Linked DNA regions of Homo sapiens: region 1 is linked to region 2. Evidence: promoter capture Hi-C in 16 types of primary human blood cells and fetal thymus (Javierre and others, 2016). All regions are on one chromosome and are shown on one strand. Each heading gives the region's core, a stretch centred on a gene start or on the middle of the fragment in contact. The rest is flanking DNA. Distances are from core to core; before and after follow the strand shown. Region 1 overlaps RERE (arginine-glutamic acid dipeptide repeats). Region 2 holds the start of ERRFI1 (ERBB receptor feedback inhibitor 1).

What was found. Contacts are between HindIII fragments. The CHiCAGO score rates a contact against its expected background, and 5 or more counts as called.
Region 1: a fragment that was not itself captured here is called in contact with the fragment with the promoter of ERRFI1 in region 2 in 1 of 17 cell types (total CD4 T cells); the score reaches 7.1 in total CD4 T cells.

Annotation. Positions count from the first base shown.
Region 1 is chr1:8,729,281-8,734,649 of GRCh38, forward strand. The region is part of intron 1 of RERE (arginine-glutamic acid dipeptide repeats); the gene reads right to left. Among named protein-coding and RNA genes, the nearest start is that of RERE, 86 kb to the right of the region's middle. RefSeq lists an enhancer at 1,132-1,631 and a silencer at 2,614-2,783. The HindIII fragment of the contact is 3,528 bases long and covers 777-4,304 here.
Region 2 is chr1:8,024,830-8,030,138 of GRCh38, forward strand. It overlaps ERRFI1 (ERBB receptor feedback inhibitor 1), which reads right to left and starts at 1,480. Exons shown (of 4, transcript NM_018948.4): 1 at 1,329-1,480. It overlaps ERRFI1-DT (ERRFI1 divergent transcript), which reads left to right and starts at 1,664. Exons shown (of 3, transcript NR_185980.1): 1 at 1,664-2,592; 2 at 4,398-4,528. RefSeq lists silencers at 1,296-1,395, 1,516-1,565. The HindIII fragment of the contact is 13,168 bases long and covers 1-5,309 here.

The sequences.
Region 1 (5,369 bases), core at 1,291-3,790, 710 kb after region 2:
TGGCACAATCTCAGCTCACCACAACCTCTGCCTCCCTGGTTTCAAGTGATTCTCCTGCCTCAGCCTCCCAAGTAGCTGGGACTACAGGCACGTGCCACCATGCCTGGCTAATTTTTGTATTTTTAGTAGAGACGGGGTTTCACCACGTTGGCCAGGCTGGTTTCGAACTCTTGACCTTGTGATCCACCCGCCTCGGCCTCCCAAAGTGCTGGGGTTACAGGCATGAGCCACTGCACCTGGCCTTATTTTTTTATGTGTATTTTCTATGGTTGTTTGTCTTCCCACTACAATGGCAGAGTTCCATACTTGAAACAGAGACCATACAACCTGAAAAGACTAAATATTTACTATATCTGGCCCTTTACAGAAAAAGACTGCCAACAGCAAACATCTCCAGCCTTCTCCAGATCACAACTTAAGAGGAATGTCATGTGCATGAGGCTAAGGAGTGTGGGCTGGCTTGAGATGGAAAAGGGGATTATGACTGCTATCCACCCTATACTACATATTAAGAAAATGAAATTATGGGAACTCATGGGAAGAAAGAATGACAGATGCAGCTGATTCCTCCCATATGATGGTTCACATCAGGCTTTTCCAAAGACTGAATGAAGAGCTCTAAGGTTTTCTTTCAGGTATTTAAAAAATCTTATGTAAGGGATGGCAGGGGAAAATAAAATTTTCTATATAACATACTATTTCACTCACATCAATGTTACACTGAAGCTCACACCTGAGATAGGCTGATATTTCTTTCAAAGAGAAGATTTCAAGTAAGCTTCCAAATAGCTATGATAATGTGTATGAATAGAACCAGATCCCAGAATGAACTTGAGGTAAATACCAAGGACTGAAATCAGTGAACCATCAAAACAAATATACTTGTCAAACATACAATACACAAGATGAAATATAATGAATCCCTTTGAAGGTCACTATATGTAGATACAAAAATACAGCTTGAAGATGATCTAGTCAAGAGACCCAGGTTCTAGTCCGGGTTTTGACTCTCCCTGTAACTTAGAAAAGTAATTTCCCCCATTTGTTTTTGGGGTTTTTTTTGTTTTTGTTTTTGTTTTTGAGACAGAGTCTCGCTCTGTTGCCCAGGCTGGAGTGCAGTGGCGCGATCTCGGCTCACCGCGAGCTCCGCCTCCCGGGTTCACCCCATTCTCCTACCTCAGCCTCCCAAGTAGCTGGGATTACAGGCATGCGTCCCCACACCCAGCTAATTTTTGTATTTTTAGTAGAGACAGGGTTTCACCATGTTGGTCAGGCTGGTCTTGAACTCCTGACCTCAGGTGATCCACCTGCCTCAGCCTCCCAAAGTGTTGGGATTACAGGCATGAGCCACTACGCCCAGTCTGGTTTTGTTTTTTGAGACAGAGTCTTGTTCTGTCACCCAGGCTGGTGTACAGTGGTGCAATCACAGCTCACTGCACCATCTACCTCCCAGGCTCCCAAAGGGCTAAGATTACAGGTGTGAGCCACAGTGACCAGCCAGTTTCCCCTTTGTACTTTATCTGTGAACTGAAGGACTAACGCTGCATGAGTGGTTCTCAACCATTCACATGCCTCAGAATCACCTGGAGGGATTTGTTAAAGCAAGGGGTGTTGGGTGCCAGGCTTCATTTTCAGTTCAGAAGTCATCATTCCCATCCTCACAGCAAGAAAACAGCTAAACAAACTGAAATCAATGGCCTTTCTTAGATCCATTAGAGAACTGGGGTCACAGAGCAAACAGCTACCACAAAATTTGAAGGAAAAAAATCACAAGAAAATACAGAGAATCACAGAAAAGATCAGATTACCAGAAGCAAAAGCTACATGAACCAGTAAGCAATACAGTAATCAATACCTGAACGGTAATTTTGACGAACTGCAGAAGACTGAGTGTGGACTAGCTTGAGAGTTAAAACTTCTGGAGGTCCAGACTTAAGAGGGACCTATATAGCTTTTACCTCCAGGAGCCTGAACAGGTTCTTACAAGAACATCAAAGAAAAAAATCCCCTCGTATTTTAGGCAGGGAGAGGGGAAAGTAACCATTTTGCAATTGCTCAGAGCATTCTCCATAACAAAGGCCCACCTGCTAAGAAAAACTACTTCGCAGGAGCTTTGTAGACCTGGGGAAAGGACAATTACTCAACTCCCTCTTGCCTTCTCACAGAAGGGGTGAGGGGAGGAAAGCTAATAAACTCTTCGGAAGATCACAGCCTAAAGACTTACGCCCACTAAAAAACTGAGATTTAATATTAGATTACAGAATGCACTCCTTCCCCAACACCTTTCCACCACATCAACAGAGCTCCAGTATAAAAAAAAAAATGCATTACAACTGACAGAGCTTCAAGACAGACTCTATTTAAGAAGGAGTTCTTAGGGAAACCCAAAGAAACCAGGGGTGGAAAAAAACAAGAAAACTACAGGAAACGGAAGCATCTAACCCACAGCAAACATGAAGCACAGTATGGCATTTTCTGAAAAAGCTAAACATAATGTTTTTTTGTTTGTTTGTTTGTTTGTTTGTTTTGTTTTGTTTTTTTGAGAAGAGTCTTGCGCTGTCACCCAGGCTGGAGTGCAATGGCACGATCTCGACTCACTGCAAGCTCTGCCTCCTGGTTTCATGCCATTCTCCTGCCTCAGCCTCCCCAGCAGCTGGGACTACAGGCACACACTGCCACGCCCGGCTAATTTTTTTGTATTTTTAGTAGAGACGGGGTTTCACTGTGTTAGCCAGGATGGTCTCGATCTCCTGACCTCGTGATCTGCCCACCTCAGCCTCCCAAAGTGCTGGGATTATAGGCATGAGCCACCACGCCCAGCCTGAAAAAGCTAAACATAATCTTACCATACAATCCCACAATCGTGCCCCTAAGCATTTGTCCAACTGACTTAAAAACTTATGTCCATACAAAAATCTGCACAAATTTTAGAGTAGTTTTATTCATAATCAGAGACAGAAGGCAACCAAGGTGTCCTTCAACCGTACTTCATGAATAGATATGCGAACTGTGGTGTTCACTGAGCAATAAAAAGAAATGAGCTCTAAAGAACAAGAAAGAGGAACATTAAACACATATTGTTAAGTGAAAGAAGCCAATCTGAAAGTATACACACTATATGATTCCAACCATAGAACTTTCTTTAAAAGGAACTTCAACTTTCTTTAAAAGACAAAACTATAGAGATAGTAAAAGGACCAGTGGTTGCCAGGGGCTGGGCAAAGAAGGGAGAGATGATTACATGGAGCACAGAAGTTTTAATGGTGGTGAAACTATTCTGCAGGATACTGTAACTGTGGATAAGCACATGACATTTACGTTTCTGTCAAACCCCACAGAATGTACAACACAAAGAGTGAATCTTAAACTGTAGACTTCAGTTAATAATATATTAATACTGCTTCATCAGTTGTAACAGATAAGCCACACTCATGCAAGATGTTAATAATAGGGGGAACTCTGTGTGTGTGTCTGTATATGTGTGTGTGTGGGAACTACTTATACTATCTGCCCAATTTTCAATTTTTCTTTTTTTTTTTTTTTTTTTTTTTTTTTGGTTTAGATGGAGTCTTGCTCTGTCACCCAGGCTGGAGTGCAGTGGCGCTATCTCAGCTCACTGCAAGCTCCGCCTCCCGGGTTCACGCCATTCTCCTGCCTCAGCCTCCCGAGTAGCTGGGACTACAGGCGCCCGCCACTACGCCCGGCTAATTTTTTGTATTTTTAGTAGAGACGGGGTTTCACCGTGTTAGCCAGGATGGTCTCAATCTCCTGACCTCGTGATCCGCCCACCTCTGCCTCCCAAAGTGCTGGGATTACAGGCGTGAGCCACCACGCCCAGCCCGATTTTTCTATAAATCTAAAAGTGTTCTAAAGTATAAAGTTTATTTAAAAAAAAAGAGAGAGAGAGAGAGTGAGTGTTGGGAGTCACTCCTCGATCCTAATTCAGTAAGTCTTGGGACAGGCCCAATAATTTACATTTTAACCAAATTCACAAGTGCTGCTGCTGGTTCAAGAGCCACATCTTGAAACCACTGGGCTACGGCTCCTTTTAGTTCTAAATTTTATTATTCTATTCACTAACATTTTCATGAGAACTGTGGTAACCAGCCCACAAAATGGCCCCCAGTGAGCTCTGCCTCCTGGTATTCAAACTCTTGACAATAATGTCTTCCAAGGCTACGTCATAAAAGACATTGCAGCTTTCACCTTGCTCTTATATGAATCCTTTCTTCTGGAAAGCCAGGTGCAGTATCATGAAGAAACTCAGGCAGCCCTATGAAGAGGTTCCATGTGCAAGGAACTGAAGCTTCTGCCAACAGCCAGCAAGAACTCTGCCAACCTTGTGAATGCACTATGTTGCAATTGGATCCTCCAGGCCCTATCAAGCCTTCAGTTGACTGCAACCTGAGAAGGGACCTCAAGCCACTCCTAAATTCCTGACCCACAAAAGGTGTGTGGGATAACAAATGCTGAATGTTGTTTTAAGCAGCAGTTTGGAGGTATTTTGTTACATATATCATATAGGAGCTTAATCTAAAATATGTATGTGGCTGGGCACGGTGGCTCACGCCTATAATCCCAGCACTGAGGCAGGCTGGATCACCTGAGGTCAGGAGTTCCAAACCAGCCTGGCCAACAGGGTGAAACCCCATCTCTACTAAAAGACACAAAAATTAGCCATGCATGGTGGTGGGTGCCTGTAATCCCAGCTACTCTACTCGGGAGGCTGATGCAGGAGAATTGCTTGAACCCAGAGGTGGAGGTTGCAGTCAGCCGAAATCGTGCCACTGCACTCCAGTCTAGGCAAAAAGGTGAGACTCCGTCTCAAAAATTAAAATAAAATAAAATAAAATGCATATAATATAACTGTTATTGTTGACCCTTCTTGCCTTTACTTTGATACAGCTGGAGAAGTCCTGAAAATGTGTCCAAATTCATTACAAGGTGAAGATCAATTTAAAGAACTCCTCCACATTTCTCAAAGTATTATATTAATAATGAATTATATCATTTCTTCAGGACATAAAGGATTTGGGGTGGGAGGAGAAGGGAAAGGAAGGAAGTGGAAACGAGATTTTCATCATCTTCCCTAAGCCATTGCTGGTCATCCTAGAGTAGAAATCTGAGAGTTTCACTTTATTGCTTAAAATCCTTTAATATTATAGTTTCCCAAAGCTTATGGAAGTGAATCCAGACACTGCTCATTGTCTGCACTACATCTACCAAGCAGGCTCATGAGGCAGCACAAGGGGTGCACACAAACATGGGCTGACTTTGCAAGACCTTGGATAAGTTACTTAATCTCCCTGCCTCGGTCTGCTCAACAGTAAAATGAAGGTAATTATACTACCAATATAGTTACTATAGGG
Region 2 (5,309 bases), core at 230-2,729:
GATCATTTGCTGATACCTAGCCTGTCTTTGGTCTCTGTTCAAATAAAATTTCACTTAAAACTGTATATTGTAATTACAGAAATATAAGAAAAGAAATGCAGTTAAAAAAATAGGTACGGTGAACTTGGGATGTTCAGTCTCAACAAATGTGTGTACCCACTGCATTCTTACACATTTATAAAAGGTTGAACATTTGTTCTGGAAGGGAAAAAAAGGGCATTTTAACCTCACCTTTCTTCACCCCTGACAGTTGCCTAGAAACCAGTCTTGCCCTACCTGTGTTGCAGGTGTACCTCAAGTCACCGACACATCTCTTTTAAAGCTACAGTCTCCATTCTGACTTAAGTTTATGACTAACCATCTATTCATATTTTTATCAGGTAAGAGACTGGTTTCTTTCAAGCAATGATGAAATCCTAATAAAGACTTAGCAAGCACTAATACAGCACCATTCACGGTTAAAGAGTCATCTAATTTGTACAGGGCTATGATATACATATAAATACACACACAAAATTCCCAATAAGCATTCACGTCTTGAACACATAATTTTGCAGTCCGATTCCATTCAAAGCCGTACTTAAGACACTCAGAGCAAAGAATCACGTTTCTAGGAGAGAAGGAAGAGTTCAGAACAGCTTAGACGAATTTTTAAATACTGATTTCGGCATTACCATCGTCGCTGTGAGATTAGGCAGAGGGAGCGGGGCTGACCGCCAGAGAACCGGTACCAACCACCGCAAGCAATCGCCGAGCCTCCCACCCCAGCTTTCAAGACAGGATTTACGGGTACACGGTGTGAACAAGACAACGCAACCCCCTTTTTACAAATAAAAAAAAAATCAAACAAGCCCCCAGGCCCGAAGACGCTCATCCCCGCCGGGCAACCCCGCGAGCGCAGGCTGCGGGACGAGGACCTTCATGCTCGCCGCTCCCGAACCCCCGTCCGCTCCTGCGGTCCCGGTGCTGCGGGGACGTATCCCGGGCGCTCGGGTGCATGGCCCCGGCCAGCCGAGGGGCCGCGCGACGACCACAGCCGGCGTGGAGAAGGCGGCGGGCGCCGGCACTTCGCGGCGTCCCCAGGCCCGGGCTGCGCCGCCGGGGAGGGTCCCGCTCTCCACACCTCAATGGGGAGAAGCCCGCGAGCGACCGGCCGGCCTCTCCCTCCATCCCAGAGACTCCGCGTCGCGGCGACCCTCCCCGCGCCCTCCACGCCCCCGCCCTCGCGTCGGGGAGCCGCCTGGATCCCGGCGCCCGGCGCGGGGCCCCCTGAGGGAACGGAGCGCTGCGTGGCCCTCCCCACCCCCTCAGCGCGCCAGGCCCCTTACCCCGGAGGAGCGGCGGCTGCCCCGCGGCGCCCTCCCGCGCATGTCCGTCCCGGCTGGCTCAGCGCCGCGGGCTCAGGGGCCCGGACATCGCGCAGGCGCCTCTTGCTGGCTCGCGCTCCCGCTAGCACTCTGCCTCGCACCGGACCGCCGTCGCCGCGGCTGCCGCCGCCGCCTCTATATATAGCATAGGCCGCCGGGCCGTGAGGTCGCCGCGTCCCGCCCCGCCTCCTCCCGCAGCCAATCAGGGCGCGCGCCGCTTAAAGGGGCGATGCCGTGGCCGAGGCGTTGCGCCGGGCCCACCGTGGCGTATCGCGGCGCTGCAGGGAGCCGGCTTTGTCTCCCGGAGAGGCGTCTCCGGGCTGACCGCGGCCGCAGCTCCGCTCCTCTGCCTGAGCCGTGCGGCAGCCCTGGGAGCCTCTCAACGCCGAGCTTTCCTCAGAAGCCCGCGGCGACCCGGGCCTCGGCCGCTGTTCCTGCCCGAACTGAGGGCACATCGCGCTTCGCGCGGGATTTCCCATAAATTCAGGCTCCGGGCAAGATTGTGTGTTTTTTCCTCTCCGCGGGCCGCCGCTGGCCGTGTGGGCCGAAGAAGCCCTGGAGGGGGAGAGGGGAGCCGCTCTCGACTGGGCTTGCGGCGTGGGAGGGACAGTGAGGGACACTTAGGGACTGTGTGGGGCAGTGAAGGATAGTGTGGGATGATGAGGGACCGTGTGGACCGGTGAGCGACTGTGTGGGACAGTGCGGGACGATGAGAGACGGTGTGGGACGGTGAGGGACAGTGCGGGACGATGAGGGACAGTGAGGGACTGTGTAGGACAGTGAGGGACAGTGTGGGACGGTGAGGGACTGTGGGACAGTGAGGGACTTTGGGACTGTGAGGGACTCGGACAGTGAAGGATGGCAAGGGACAGTGTGGGACAGTATGGGACAGTGGACAGTGAGGCACTGTGAGGGGCGGTGAGGGACAATGAAGGATGTCAAGGGACAGTGTGGGACAGTGGACGGTGAGGTACTGTGAGGGGCGGTGAGGGACAGTGTGGGACTGTGAGGGATGGCGAGGGACAGAGTAGGACAGCAAGGGAGGATGAGGGGACAGAGTGGGCCGGCGTGGGGCGGTGAGGCTACGCGGGGGGAACCCAGGGCTCCTCTGACTGCGTTGGAATATGGAGGAAAGGTCCTGCTCGAGGTTGAGCCCTTCAGGGTCGCTGTGGGTTTCCAGGAGGAGCTCCCTCACTACTGACTTAGGGGGCCCTCGGCTTCCCAGGTTTGTGTTTACTCAGGCGACCTGAGCTGGCCCCGACGTCTTTTGGCTTTGGAGAGGCCACGGATGCCCAAGGACAAAGCCCCAGCGGGCCTGTGGGAGGAGGTTTCTCGGGGCGCCAGTGATGCAACTTAGGCTTATAGTTTAACCGTAAAATAAATAATACAAATGATAACAAACCAAGAGTGACTAAAGTCAGAAAAAAAGCAAACAGACGGAAACCCTCTAGTTTTAACTAGAACAAATTCCCTGGCTGGTCCTCTGTTGGGAGAGCCCAGAGACCTGTCGCTGACCTCTAGCCTCCTGGAGCCCCTGCTTGCACTTCAGCAATAATGCCTGATAGTTAGACACTGATCACTAGCTAATTGGGGTAGTTTAACATATGGAATGAGATTCTGGCCTTATTATCAGGTTAACTATTAACTCTACACCCCATGAAATGATTTGCCTTTCCCCCACTATTATTTACTTACATTCTTTTTAATTTAATTCAAAGGCCTAATTTTGAATTCAAGGCCTTAAGCACGAAAAGGAAAAAAAAAAGAAAAAGAATCTGAAGTATCTTTGCCCTCTCTCACTTGCAAAACAAACGAACGTTTTGCAGAGAGAAATCTGGCTTCCTTTCTGATGGCTCTTCTGGCTTACAAGGGGCTGTTGGGTCATTTTCATGCCTATGCCATTTGTCAACAATTCAGTTAACCTATCTTCTTACAGCCATTCATTTAGTATTATTTTAGGATGATGGAAATGAGTCACAACTAATTGCAGAGTTCCTTACCAACTAACTAGGTTTTTTGATCCAAAGAAAATCTGTCCCGATTTTCCTCCCATTTTGGCGTCATTTATGTTTGTGGCTTACCCATATGCTGTTATCAGTGTAAAAAAAAGATGAGTGTGAGAACTTGCCAGGGTACATCTTTTCAAACCTCACGGGACAGGATTTACTGAATGGGCACCTAAAGGAGCTCAAGTTTCATCTGAAAGGAGCCCTGGCTATACTATTTCAAGTCACTACAATACAGTTGTAATTTGTGCTTCGGCCTTATTGGCGTGCTTTTACATTCCCCTATTCATAAAACAGTGATAATCACCAGAGCAACCATCAAACACACCCCTTCTTTAGAGAAAGAAGATCAACAGGATACTCACTCTACAGTTGTGAGCTGTATGATGTGCTAATGTTTTGGTAAATTATCAAAAATCATAAAATCCCATGAGTAATATGTGATTAATCTGATTTTTCTATTTTAAACAACTTGCAAAATAAACTTGATTTATTCATTTTTTGGGGAAAACCTGTTTAGCCACTAGTTTGCTGTGTTTAGCTTGCAGTTATATAATATGGCTTTCTCAGCTGTGGAAGAATTACATGAGAAGACTTACACCCCACAAATTTTTTATCTAATAGTCTGTTAATGATGTGTTATAATAACATTGATATGTCAATAATATTGTAGGACATCTTGGGAAGAGTTTAAAAGCAAAACGCTAAGCATCTTGAAGTAATACTAGCATGTTGTGTTTATTAAGTGATTATTCATTGACCTTTAATAGATTAGAACACTACACCAGAGATTCGGGGAAATAGTCTCTTTTTCCTGAACCCAATTTGTTTTAAATTATCTCCAGAAAAGCATGACATTTAAAGTAAGACAGTGTTTTTTATATCTCTCACAGTCTGCTTAATTTTGAGGCCATTTTCCAAGGAATTTATATTAGTTGATTTTTTTAATAGAACTCAACATCTAAAACGTTAGACTTGCATCACATTGACCCAAATTGTCACTTTTCACTTGCCCTTCTTTCAGTGTAAGAAGAAGCTGTCTTTGGAGTGAGAACAAGGGTGAGGTTCTGGCTCAGAAACCTTAGAATCACAGACACTGTTTTCCTGAAAACATTGCTTCTTTCTCTCATCTCAAAGAAATGCCACAAGTCGTGTGTAAGTATAACATGCTGGACAGGTCCTTATTAAATTTATATTTGTATTTTGATATTATTTTAATCCTGTAGAAGAACATATACATTTTGGTGTTTATTCTTCTTGATTATAGAAGTTTTTGTGTTTCTACTTTGTTTATAATAAATATTTTAAAGTTAAACACATTTTGTATGTCCCTCTTGGTCCTAGAGCCTTTGTTTCTGTCTATACATAATATAAATGTATATTATGCACTTAAACTATTTTATAGATAAGTGTGCAATAAAAAAATACAACCAAGAGAGGAATTACATTTCCTAGAGGGTGTTTGCTTAGTGTGCTACATTGCATTTTGGGAACATTCATATTTCTGTTCATGGATGTTTCCAAAACGCATGCATGTACACACACACACACACACACACACACTCAACATATAAAATAAACTCTAGGTGATTCTTTTCATTTTTTTGAGACGGAGTCTCACTCTGTCCCCAGGTTGGAGTGCAGTGGCGCCATCTCAGCTCACTGCAACCTCCGCCTCCCGGGTTCAAGCGATTGTCCTGCCTCAGCCTCCCTAGTAGCTGGGACTACAGGTGGGTGCCACCACGCCCGGCTAATTTTTGTATTTTTAGTAGAGACGGGGTTTCACCATGTTGGCCAGGATGGTCTTGATCTCTTGACCTCATGATCCGCCCGCCTCGGCCTCCCAAAGTGCTGGGATTACAGGCTTGAGCCACCGCGCCTGGTGAACTCTGGATGATTCTAAAACACACATGCTGATAAGAGCCTAGATTCACCC